Linked DNA regions of Homo sapiens: regions 2 and 3 are each linked to region 1. Evidence: promoter capture Hi-C in human tissues and cell types (Jung and others, 2019). All regions are on one chromosome and are shown on one strand. The core of a region is centred on a gene start or on the middle of the fragment in contact, and the rest is flanking DNA. Distances in the headings are between cores, read along the strand shown. Region 1 holds the start of GRIN2B (glutamate ionotropic receptor NMDA type subunit 2B). Region 2 overlaps GRIN2B (glutamate ionotropic receptor NMDA type subunit 2B). Region 3 has its middle 48 kb from the start of GRIN2B.

Region 1 (3,273 bases), core at 291-2,790:
GCATGTGAACACACTCTATTTGTGTTTTCACACAATGCTTATGTGTTCGTGTGTGTTAAATATGTTAGATTCAAAAATTAAGCCTGAGAAAAACCAGGAAACAGAAGAATTACTGTAGCTCAGAAGTATGAGTAGTCTGGTCTACAGGACAGCAAAAACATATCTGATGGCTTCTACAGACTAAAGTTCCAAGCCACTAGGTATATCCACTCACACAGCCTTCTCTCCTGTGCGTTTGTATGGCCGCTTCTCAGGAATGCTGGTGAGAAGCCCATGATATAACCAATATGAAAATGTTCCACCACTGTAGTATTCTAGATATTTGAAAAGACAATGGATGAGAATGAAAATGATGCATATACAATAATATTAATGTTAAAAGTAAACAATACTACAGGTGGTGATAAGGGCTATTAAAATATAAAAGAGTTCAATAGGAAGAGAAATGAATGGATGTTTGCCTTTTCAAAGAGGGTGGGTTTGTAAATGCCAGGAAATCCAGTTTCCTTTAGGGATTATTCACGGGCCTCACCATCTTCTCTTCTCAAGGCATTTAAATAACAGGATCCACTTTAATAAAAAATGTCAAACTCCTCCCGCCTTCACTAGCAGCCAGAAAAGCACGCGTATGGTCCATACTATACAATTTAGCCACGAATGACACCTGCTTTGCTTTGTTTTCTATTGTGTTAGGCGTCAGCCTCGTGTGCTCAGATAGATCTTAAGCTCCTTGAAGGCAAGAAAGAACCCGGTCCCAGACTGCGTCCGACACACAGAATGCTCGTAGGAAGCACAGGCTGATTTATGGAAAATACAGCAAGGGTCTTCAATTTCGAACTACAGCTCCGCCTTGGAGATGCTTTCCGCAGCCCGCGGGCCGCCCACGGGGGGCACTGTCTAGCTCCCCTCGCCCCTCAGCCGCTCTCCGTCGGTGCTGTTCCCCGCTGCGGCCGGGAGGAGGCGCCACGGACTCGGGCTAAGCTTCTTCCCCCTTCCGTCCCCCTTCCATCCACCTTACCACCCCACTTCCCCAGCACATGACGTGGGAAGCTGCCTCCGCCAGAGTCTTAGCAAGAGGAGTGAGGGGGTGCAGGGGCTTGGGGGTGGGGTGGGGTGGGGGGTGTGGAGAAAGAGGACACGCGCGCTCACACCCGCCCCTGGGAGCAGAAGCAGTATCTTCCCCAGCTTCGTGGGTTTCTCCTCCCCCCGGAGTCAGGGTGTGCGAGGTAGGGGGTGTGTGTGTGTCTGTGTGTGTGTGCGCGGCACGTTTTTGAGTGTGAGACCCAAATCCAGACCAGGCAACCTGCGTTCCCCGCGCCTCCCCCCGTCCCCGGTGATTAATACCCATTTTTCTGACGCTCCCCTCCTCCCCTCCTGCTCTCCCTCTCCGGCTGCCGCGCGGTTGACTTGCACAGCCTGCCCCCGCCCGCTTCCCTTCCCCCGGCTCCGATCCTCACCAACTGGAATCTGGGCTCCTGCCTCTCCACCCCCCACCTCTTTTTGAGAAAGGAAGGTTCCCCCCACCCCCTTTCAAAAACCACTTCCTCCGGCTTCTTCACCTCTAGGAAATCTCGGGGCTTCGCTCTATCGAGAGTGCTCGTCAAGGGTGATTCTTGATCACCACCATCCAGTAGTGCTGGCGTCCGAATGCATATCCTTTTGCCTTGCAAAGAAGAGTCATGAACTTCAAAACCCCCGAGACGGATCATTAATCCTGCTTTGCAGGAAAGGAAAACCCTCCATTCCCAGCCACCGGCCACCCCTCTCCGCAGACTGCAACCGCGGAGGCGCTCGGAGCCGGTACGTAAAGATGGGCTTTGGAGTCTCTCCTTTGAATGTAGGGGTTTGGGGGTGTCAGGCAGATAAAGGGTCGAAGCCGTGAAATCGTGAACGAATCTGGCATGAGGTAAAGCTCTGAAATCCAGCAGAACCCGGCACTTGCTAATTTGGACGTGGCTTTTTTAAAGGTTTTTTTTTTTTGTGGGGGAGGGGGTGCTGTGACTGGGTAGGGCTGTCTCTGGTCTTTTGGGGGGTTTCATCCCTTCACCTAGCAGAGGGGCAGGGCAGCGGCGCCCCGGGCCGGACCCACGCGCCGAGCCCATCCGTCCAATCGACACGTTGCAGGTGAAGCCCCGTGCGCTGCACCTCAGCGCGGCGGCAGCGTGAGTGTGCGCGGGGGTGAGTGTGCGCGGGGGTGAGTGTGAGTGCGCGCGGGGCGCGTGCGCGTCGGGGGCGTGTGTGCGCGCGTCAGTGTGCCCCTTCCAAGAAATGCCCAGTGTGCACCCCGTGCACAATCAGAACCCATTCAGCACAAGCCCGGGGTGGGAGGCGGCGCTGCTGCTGGAGGCGATGGGGAGAGCGAGCGAGACAAGTCAGCAGCAATGCAGATGGGGCTGGGGGCCGCACTCGCTGGCGAGTTAAGTGGGAATTGTGTTTCTGCGTGTGTGTGAGTGTGTGTTGCTGTATGGTGCCGCTTCTCCCCCCCTTCCTCCTTCCTTCCCACTTCCCTCCTTCGCTCGCTCCCTCCCTCTCTCCTCTTCCATTCAGGTTGGCTTTCCCACCTCTCATCCGTGCCTGTCCCAGGAATGGTATAGCCAGACCTTTTCTGAATTATTTATAGACCGGTACCAGCTGTTTTCAATTCCTCTCGTGTGCACTCTGTGGGAAATGCGGGGTTTCCTCCCCCCTTTCCTTAAAACGAATTGATATCTTTTTCGGAATGCATTTTTCTCACCCTCCGGGGGACACGCGAATCAAGCCCTGACCGCCTCTTTTTCCCCCTTAGGAAGGGGACGCTTTGGGAATGACCATGCTCCACCGAGGGACGGAGCCGGCCCCCAGCTTCTCCACACAGAGCCTCCTCCACTAACGCTCCAAAAACCAAAAACCGTAATTGCCAGAAGAAGCGTTAAAAATCTATTCCAGCCACTAACCTCACATGCACACGGAATAATTACTCTGGATTCTGCATTGTGAGCTGCTCTCCATACCCTGAATTACCTTTGAATTAAATCTTTTTTTTTTTGAATTTGCATCTCTTCAAGACACAAGATTAAAACAAAATTTACGCTAAATTGGATTTTAAATTATCTTCCGTTCATTTATCCTTCGTCTTTCTTATGTGGATATGCAAGCGAGAAGAAGGGACTGGACATTCCCAACATGCTCACTCCCTTAATCTGTCCGTCTAGAGGTTTGGCTTCTACAAACCAAGGTAGGGCAAATTCTATTTTATTTTTTCCTCACCTGGGGTAGGGATTCCTCATTTTATCT
Region 2 (3,273 bases), core at 332-2,831, 61 kb after region 1:
ACCGGACTTACCACGGGTGCCACAGGCTCCCCACCAGGCATTCCTCTGCCTGTGTACATTATCGTTGATAATTATTCATTTGCCTTTAGTCAGACTTTAGCCTCTGTGATGAGTTTTACAGTCTTGCCCATTTGAAATTTCATGCGCTGCTGTATCAGTCTCTTTTCTGGAGTCAAAATGTATTATTTCATTGACTGTGTGCTCCTCTCTACTAATCTTGTAATCCTAACCCAAATAACAATTCAGTTTGGAAGACTGCCATGTGGCCAAAACATGAGCTAGTTTTTTTCTCTCCACCTTCCATTGTGGAAGCGGGGGTTTGAGCTCAGACACCCAGGGCACCCTGCTATCTGCCACTCTGGCTAATGAACTGGAGACACCATGTCTCAAATGATCTGCTGAAGCACTTTAGTGCTCTCTGAACCATTGAGGAAAGATTGAATTAGATTCAGTCTACTTGTTTAACCTAAGCATATTTTACACTACTCAAATCCAGTAAAAATTGATAATGATAAATATTATATAGGAGAGCTTACTGTGTGCTAGACACCTTACTAGGTACTTTGCTTGTGCCACCTCTCAAACCTTCGTTCCAACCCTAACAATCCTGAGAAATAGGTATAATAACACTCATTTTCCTGATACAGAACCTAAGGCTTAGAGGCAAAATAACTTGGTCAAGGTTGCATATTTAACAATATATATTTCTTATCATTTAACCTCTGTTGCCACTTGTGCTTGGTACATACTTATCTGCCTATCCATCTATCCACTGATTCTTCAATTCAGGGAATAATATATCTATCGCATGCCTACTGTGGGCCAGGGACTGTTGGAGATGCACAGTGCTGGGCACAAAGCTCATTAGACATGGTGTCTTCCCTGCCACCAAGGATCTGGCATCCCAGTAGGCTAAGAAAAGATTTATATGGAAACTCTGACTTCATTGAACCTGACTTGCTGTTCACAGAGAATGTACAGACTTTCAACCTCCCCAATACTGCTGTACCATCTGAAATCCCTTCTTAGGGAACACAAGAGAAACTTAGATAGACATATAGAGAGAAAGATGTGCAGTGTGTTGCAAACTCTTCCATCAAGATACTCGAAATTACAGAGGAGGGTGGAAGCTCATCCTTCAGGTTGAGACTGCAAGGTAAAGTAGCCTTCTGCAAGAGTTATTTTCTCTTAGCTTTTATATTTTGTCCTGAAACTTTTTTATTTGATTTTACTTTTGAGATATAGTCTTGCTCCTGTCACCCAGGCTGGAGTATAGTGGCAGTGGCACAATCTAGGTTCATTGCAACTTCTGCCTCCCGGGTTCAAGCGATTCTCATGCCTCAGCCTCCCAAGCAGCTGGGACTACAGGTCTGCACCACCACAGCTGGCTAATGTGTTGTATTTTTAGTAGAGATGGGGTTTCACCATATTGGCCAGGCTGATCTTGAACTCCTGGCCTCAAATTATCTGCCTGCCTTGGCCTCCCAAAGTGCTGGGATTACAGGTGTGAGCTACCATGCCTGGTTCCTAAAACTTTATTTTAATATGCCCTTTCCCTATGATGTTTCAGTGATTATTTCAATATAAAAATAAATTTCCAAAATTACCTACTATTGAGTAAAATGGCTCAAGAATACGTACTGTGCTTTGTTAGGGTTTTACATATCCTTGGTGCCGTTAGGATTGGTACAAATCCTGCAACTTGAGAACCATGGGGCAGACTAATGTATTAGTCAGGATTCACAGAAGCCACCTTGGGTATTTTGAAGAGGAAATTTAATACAGGGAATTCAAGGTTTACACAATCTTTAGAAGGCTGGAGGAGTGAAGAACAGGAAAGCTTCATTTGGGAAAAATGTAAGCGAAGGGCTACAGTGAGGCAAGTGGGTGATTCTCAGGAGATGCCTGATGTCACCGGCAAAACTGTACCTTTGCCACAGGCCAACATCAAAGTGACGTCTTCCAGGTGCACCTGGAGCATAGCAGCTTCTTTTTCTCTTCCACCTTCCCCACCTCAGTCTGGAGCCTCTCACTGCTGGGATCTAACCAGGAACTTGTTAGCAAAAACATCCAGGAAAGGAAGGAAGTTTCTAGGCTTCATAAACCTGGAATGCAAAAGAGAGCTTAGAGATGTGAGAATGGTGCTAAGGATCAACAAACAATATCCTGCACAGTTACAAAATGATGTTTTTGCCTAGGATAAAGCAGTCTTATCCCATCTTTTCCCTACTTCCATTCTATTCCTTTGAATTTTTTCCTTGAGAAGTTAAAGTACCAATGAATGATGCTTCTGTGAGAAGCGTAAGTGAGTTGGGGAAATTTAATTCTGTTGACTCTCATTTTTTCACTTCACCTCCTACTCTCCACCCTCCTAGTTCTCCCAATCCCCGTTTTTTTTTTTTTTTCTTGAGATAGGGTCTTGCTATGTTACCCAGGCTGGCCTCAAACTCCTGGGCTCAAGCGATCCTCCTGCCTCAGCCTCCTGAGTAGTTGGGATTACAGGTGTAAGCCACCACACCCAGCTCTAATTCCTTTTTTTCAGTGAGGAGGCGGGCTCTTAGTCCCAGGATTGTGACTGAATTCCTCTGAGGGCTTTTTACCACCCTAGGCCTCTTCAGAGATAAGCTCTTTAGGGAAGACAGAAGGGAGAAAATCTGAATTGATGGCAAGGCTTTGTGGTGTATTCCTCTGCAGGAATGTGATCTTCCTCCTGTGGTAAAGGGCGTCAAATGCTCCAGCCAGTTCATCTGCATCGTTGTTGCTCTCATTTTCAAGGTGATTCTGATATGACCCCAAGAATGTCTGCTTTTTTTTTGAGTTCCTGAGCTCCCACATTCCCATCAGTGTTCAGAATGGAGGGCCATGGACCCTTTCCAGGGAGACGATCCCCGCATCAGCTTCCAATTTTCAAGCAAGATCTTGGCCAACAGCTTTATAGGGTTCATTTGGATGCTTCCCTACCTTCTTATAAATGGATACTGTCATTTTCCACTAGTAAACCCAAAGACTTAGTTTAAGTTGATGCACGGTCTTAAAAGACTGCATCACGTGGCATTTGTTATTTTTAGAGATATTATTAAGCCCTTAAGAAAAAAACAAAAAGCCATATTGTCTCTACCTGGAATCTTTCATGTCATACAGGCCACTATTTCTAGAACGTTGAGGTCATTCCAAAAGTACATATTAGGGAATGTTAGTTTAGAAAAGAGTTTGAATTTTAGAAAAGTTGTGAGAGAAACAAATGATTCAATTTATGTGGGTGTTTCACTGGAA
Region 3 (3,273 bases), core at 204-2,703, 49 kb before region 1:
GCTGGAGTGCAATGATACGATCTTGGCTCGCTGTAATCTCTGCCTCCCAGTTTCAAGCGTTTCTCCTGCCTCAGCCTCCCGAGTAGCTGGGATTACAGGTGCCCCCCACCACACCTGGCTAATTTTTTGTATTTTTGTAGAGATGGAGCTTCACCATGTTGGCCAGGCTGGTCTCAAACTCCTTACCTCAGGCGATCTGCCTGCCTTGGCCTCCCAAAATGCTGGGATTACAGGCAGGAGCCACCATGCCCAGCCTGGTTATACACTTTTAATAAGCATCTAGGTGTTATAGTGTGGCAGGACTCTAACATTGAAAATAAAGAACATAGAGTAATTTAGAGTCACATTTAAAAATCAACACCTAATTTACAATAAAGGTATGCAAAATCATCTGAAGAAGATATTATTTGTAGGCAAGCAAACCCATACTGTAACCTCTTCAGTGTCTTAATCACTAGTAAAATTAAATCAAATTAAAGCAGAAGGAGAATGACATAGGTTCATATTGGTAGTGCTCACCTAAGCTCTAAAATGGAAAGGGAGACTCAAAACAGAGACTGATTATTTTAGATCTCATGGACAGTATGTCCCTAGAATGAATAATTCAGAGATTTATCCTTGCATTTCAAATATACCAGGCCCATTGGCAAGATTATCTTTATGGTAGAATTATACATCAGACTAAGAATTCATTCATTCTGAAACTATATCTGTAGAATAGTATTGTTTCGTGAGCTATTGATAAGTAATCTATATAGACAGGAGTCAAATGCACTTTAGAAAAGCTGTCTGTCTGAGCCCTTTGAGATTCACAATGTATATCTGCAGTCCAAAGGAAAGAATGCAGTTATGAAATCTGAGTTTAATCCAGTGTTTCTCACATTTATTGTATTAGTGAACTTTTTGTCGTTGTTGGAAGATGTATTAAAACATCTCACAGAACATAACGCATTTTGGGAAACAATGAATTAAAGATTTGATTTATCTACATCCTGTTTTTTTGAGTCTGTGCTCACAAAACCATCTTTTGATTTCTATGTGATTGGGCCACAAGTAAAAAAAAAAATGTTTTGATCAGGCCAATGTGATATTTCTTGTACATGTGGTGTTATATTTCTCACTGTAAATTAATGCAAGAGCCTTTTGATGTTTACTTTCATCTCATGTACCTCTTAGCGTGAGTCAATTTGTCACCCACCTTCCATTTACTTTCAGATGCCTGTCTACTTACCTATACCTACAAAAGGAAGGGTAGCCAGAACTTTATGTACCACTGGAAAACAATAATGAGTTCTGGACTCTGAAAACTCATCCTGGTGACATGACATCATGGGAATTGCCTAGACTACTTTGAATAGCTGGATTTTGCATCTAAATGTCAACACAAAGTTTTAAGATTACCATATTTCTTTGCCCTTAGGCAATCACTTCAGCTTTTTTTTCTATCAACTAACTGATGCATAACAGCATCAATCTATTGTATGTGATTACTATGAAGTGTATTCATTCATACTGCTGATCCATAAAAGGGTCTTCCAAAGCTGAGAGAGAATACAAGGTCAACGAGGGGCAAAAACAGGTCAGGCCCAGCATGCAATTTTGTTTGAAAAAAATCAGCCTGTAACACAAAGATCTTTCATAAGAGCAAGTTAAAGTCTGAACCACTGGATTTTTGTCTTATTGTACTCAGCTGACTCTAATATATATCATGGTTTGTACTAAAATCCTTAACAACTCAGGAGAGGAAGAAAGCTTAGAGAAAGTTCAGATGAGAGTAACCAAGTATTGGAATATGAGAGCCATAGAGAAGGTGAAAAGATAAAGGATGATTTAGACTTGAGAAAATAAAATTATAGAAATATATAATAAGCTTCCATACTTTGTTAAGATTAGTATATTTAAACAAACTAAATACGTGGTAAGTAAAACTTTGTAATAGCCTTGCAGGTTTCATCCTTGCCATACTTCCTTGTTTGAGTTCCCTATTTACTCAAGCAGTGAGTTTCCCTCCCAAAAGTACTGTGTCTTGCAATGTGCCTTCTAAACCCCCTCTGTCTTCCAATGGTTCTTAATTACCACCCCTTGAGTTAAGATCTCAGACTTGTTCTCTACCTGCGTCATTTAAGAGTTATTCTTCTCACCAGTCCACACTGGCATAAACTTACAATTCCTTTTTGTTTAACGCTTTGCTAAACTGTGTTCTAGGTCTCATCCAATTAGAGAAAAAAGGATCACCTCCTCCCTTTTGACATAGGATAGGAAGTTGAACAGGGAATTCCACAAGGCACAATTCTCAGTAAGACCAGGACTTGTAGAAAATAATGTAATGGCACAAGATCTGAATTAGATCAAGAGAAAGCATATTTCCCTAAGAAATATTTTCTTTATATTTCCTGTCTTTTGTATATAAAAAGTCTAATTTTAATGTTGCATTATTAAGTTCTAAATTTATTTCTATTTAGAAAAGGTATAATTAAACAAAGCAAATCTACATATGACTTTAGTCTCATAGCTCTAAATAATAACACAATTACTAAATATTCATAGCAAGTTTTCATAAAAATTTCAGAATCGTATAAACAAATTACCCTAAATAGATATTTGGTACAAAAAAATGAAAAAAAGCTGTACTTTTAACTATTTTTAGTAGATTTATTTAATAGGCTCTGTGATCCAGAAATAGATTAAAACTTAAATCTTCTAAGTTTTAGTTATTTTAGAGTTATGGCTTTGAAGATTGAACTTTTATAAAACCCAGAAGTTACTAAATAAATGGTAGTAAGTGCTTGCAATTCTCCGTTCTCTCCAGTTATGAAAGGACTACAGTATCAAAGGCTATACTTAATTTCTGAATGCTCAAGAAAAATTTTATGTAGACAGTTTCTTTATAACTTTAAAATTTAAGAATTTAGCACTCTGCTCCCCCTCCCCAGGAATTAGTACTAATCTTTTATGCCTTTGTAATGGTTTTCAAACATATATATGAGATTATTTTATCCTTGCTTACAGAGTTTACGGGGGAACTCAGGAAACACATGTGGTTTGATGTCTGCATTTCTTCTAGTGGTTCGGAATACTGGATTGGAATATTGGGATTGTATATTACATTAATTTCGGTTCTTCAGTAAACCTTCATTGATTGACAGCTGCACTGTCTAATATGGTAGTCACTAACCAAATGTGTCTATCCAGGACTTGAAATGTGTCTAGTACAAATTGAGATGTGCTGTAGTATAAAACACACACCAGATTTTATAAATTTAGTATAAATAA

The links. Contacts are between HindIII fragments. The study calls those that stand out against the background at their distance.
Region 2: a contact is called between a fragment that was not itself captured here and the fragment with the promoter of GRIN2B in region 1, in 2 of the 25 tissues and cell types used here (liver and mesenchymal stem cells).
Region 3: a fragment that was not itself captured here is called in contact with the fragment with the promoter of GRIN2B in region 1 in 1 of the 25 tissues and cell types used here (lymphoblastoid cells).

The regions. Positions count from the first base shown.
Region 1 is chr12:13,979,869-13,983,141 of GRCh38, reverse strand. It overlaps GRIN2B (glutamate ionotropic receptor NMDA type subunit 2B), which reads left to right and starts at 1,540. Exons shown (of 14, transcript NM_000834.5): 1 at 1,540-1,800; 2 at 2,786-3,214. The HindIII fragment of the contact is 12,156 bases long and covers 1-3,273 here.
Region 2 is chr12:13,919,368-13,922,640 of GRCh38, reverse strand. The region is part of intron 2 of GRIN2B (glutamate ionotropic receptor NMDA type subunit 2B); the gene reads left to right. Among named protein-coding and RNA genes, the nearest start is that of GRIN2B, 61 kb to the left of the region's middle. The HindIII fragment of the contact is 7,271 bases long and covers 1-3,273 here.
Region 3 is chr12:14,028,336-14,031,608 of GRCh38, reverse strand. No RefSeq gene overlaps it. Among named protein-coding and RNA genes, the nearest start is that of GRIN2B, 48 kb to the right of the region's middle. The HindIII fragment of the contact is 5,625 bases long and covers 1-3,273 here.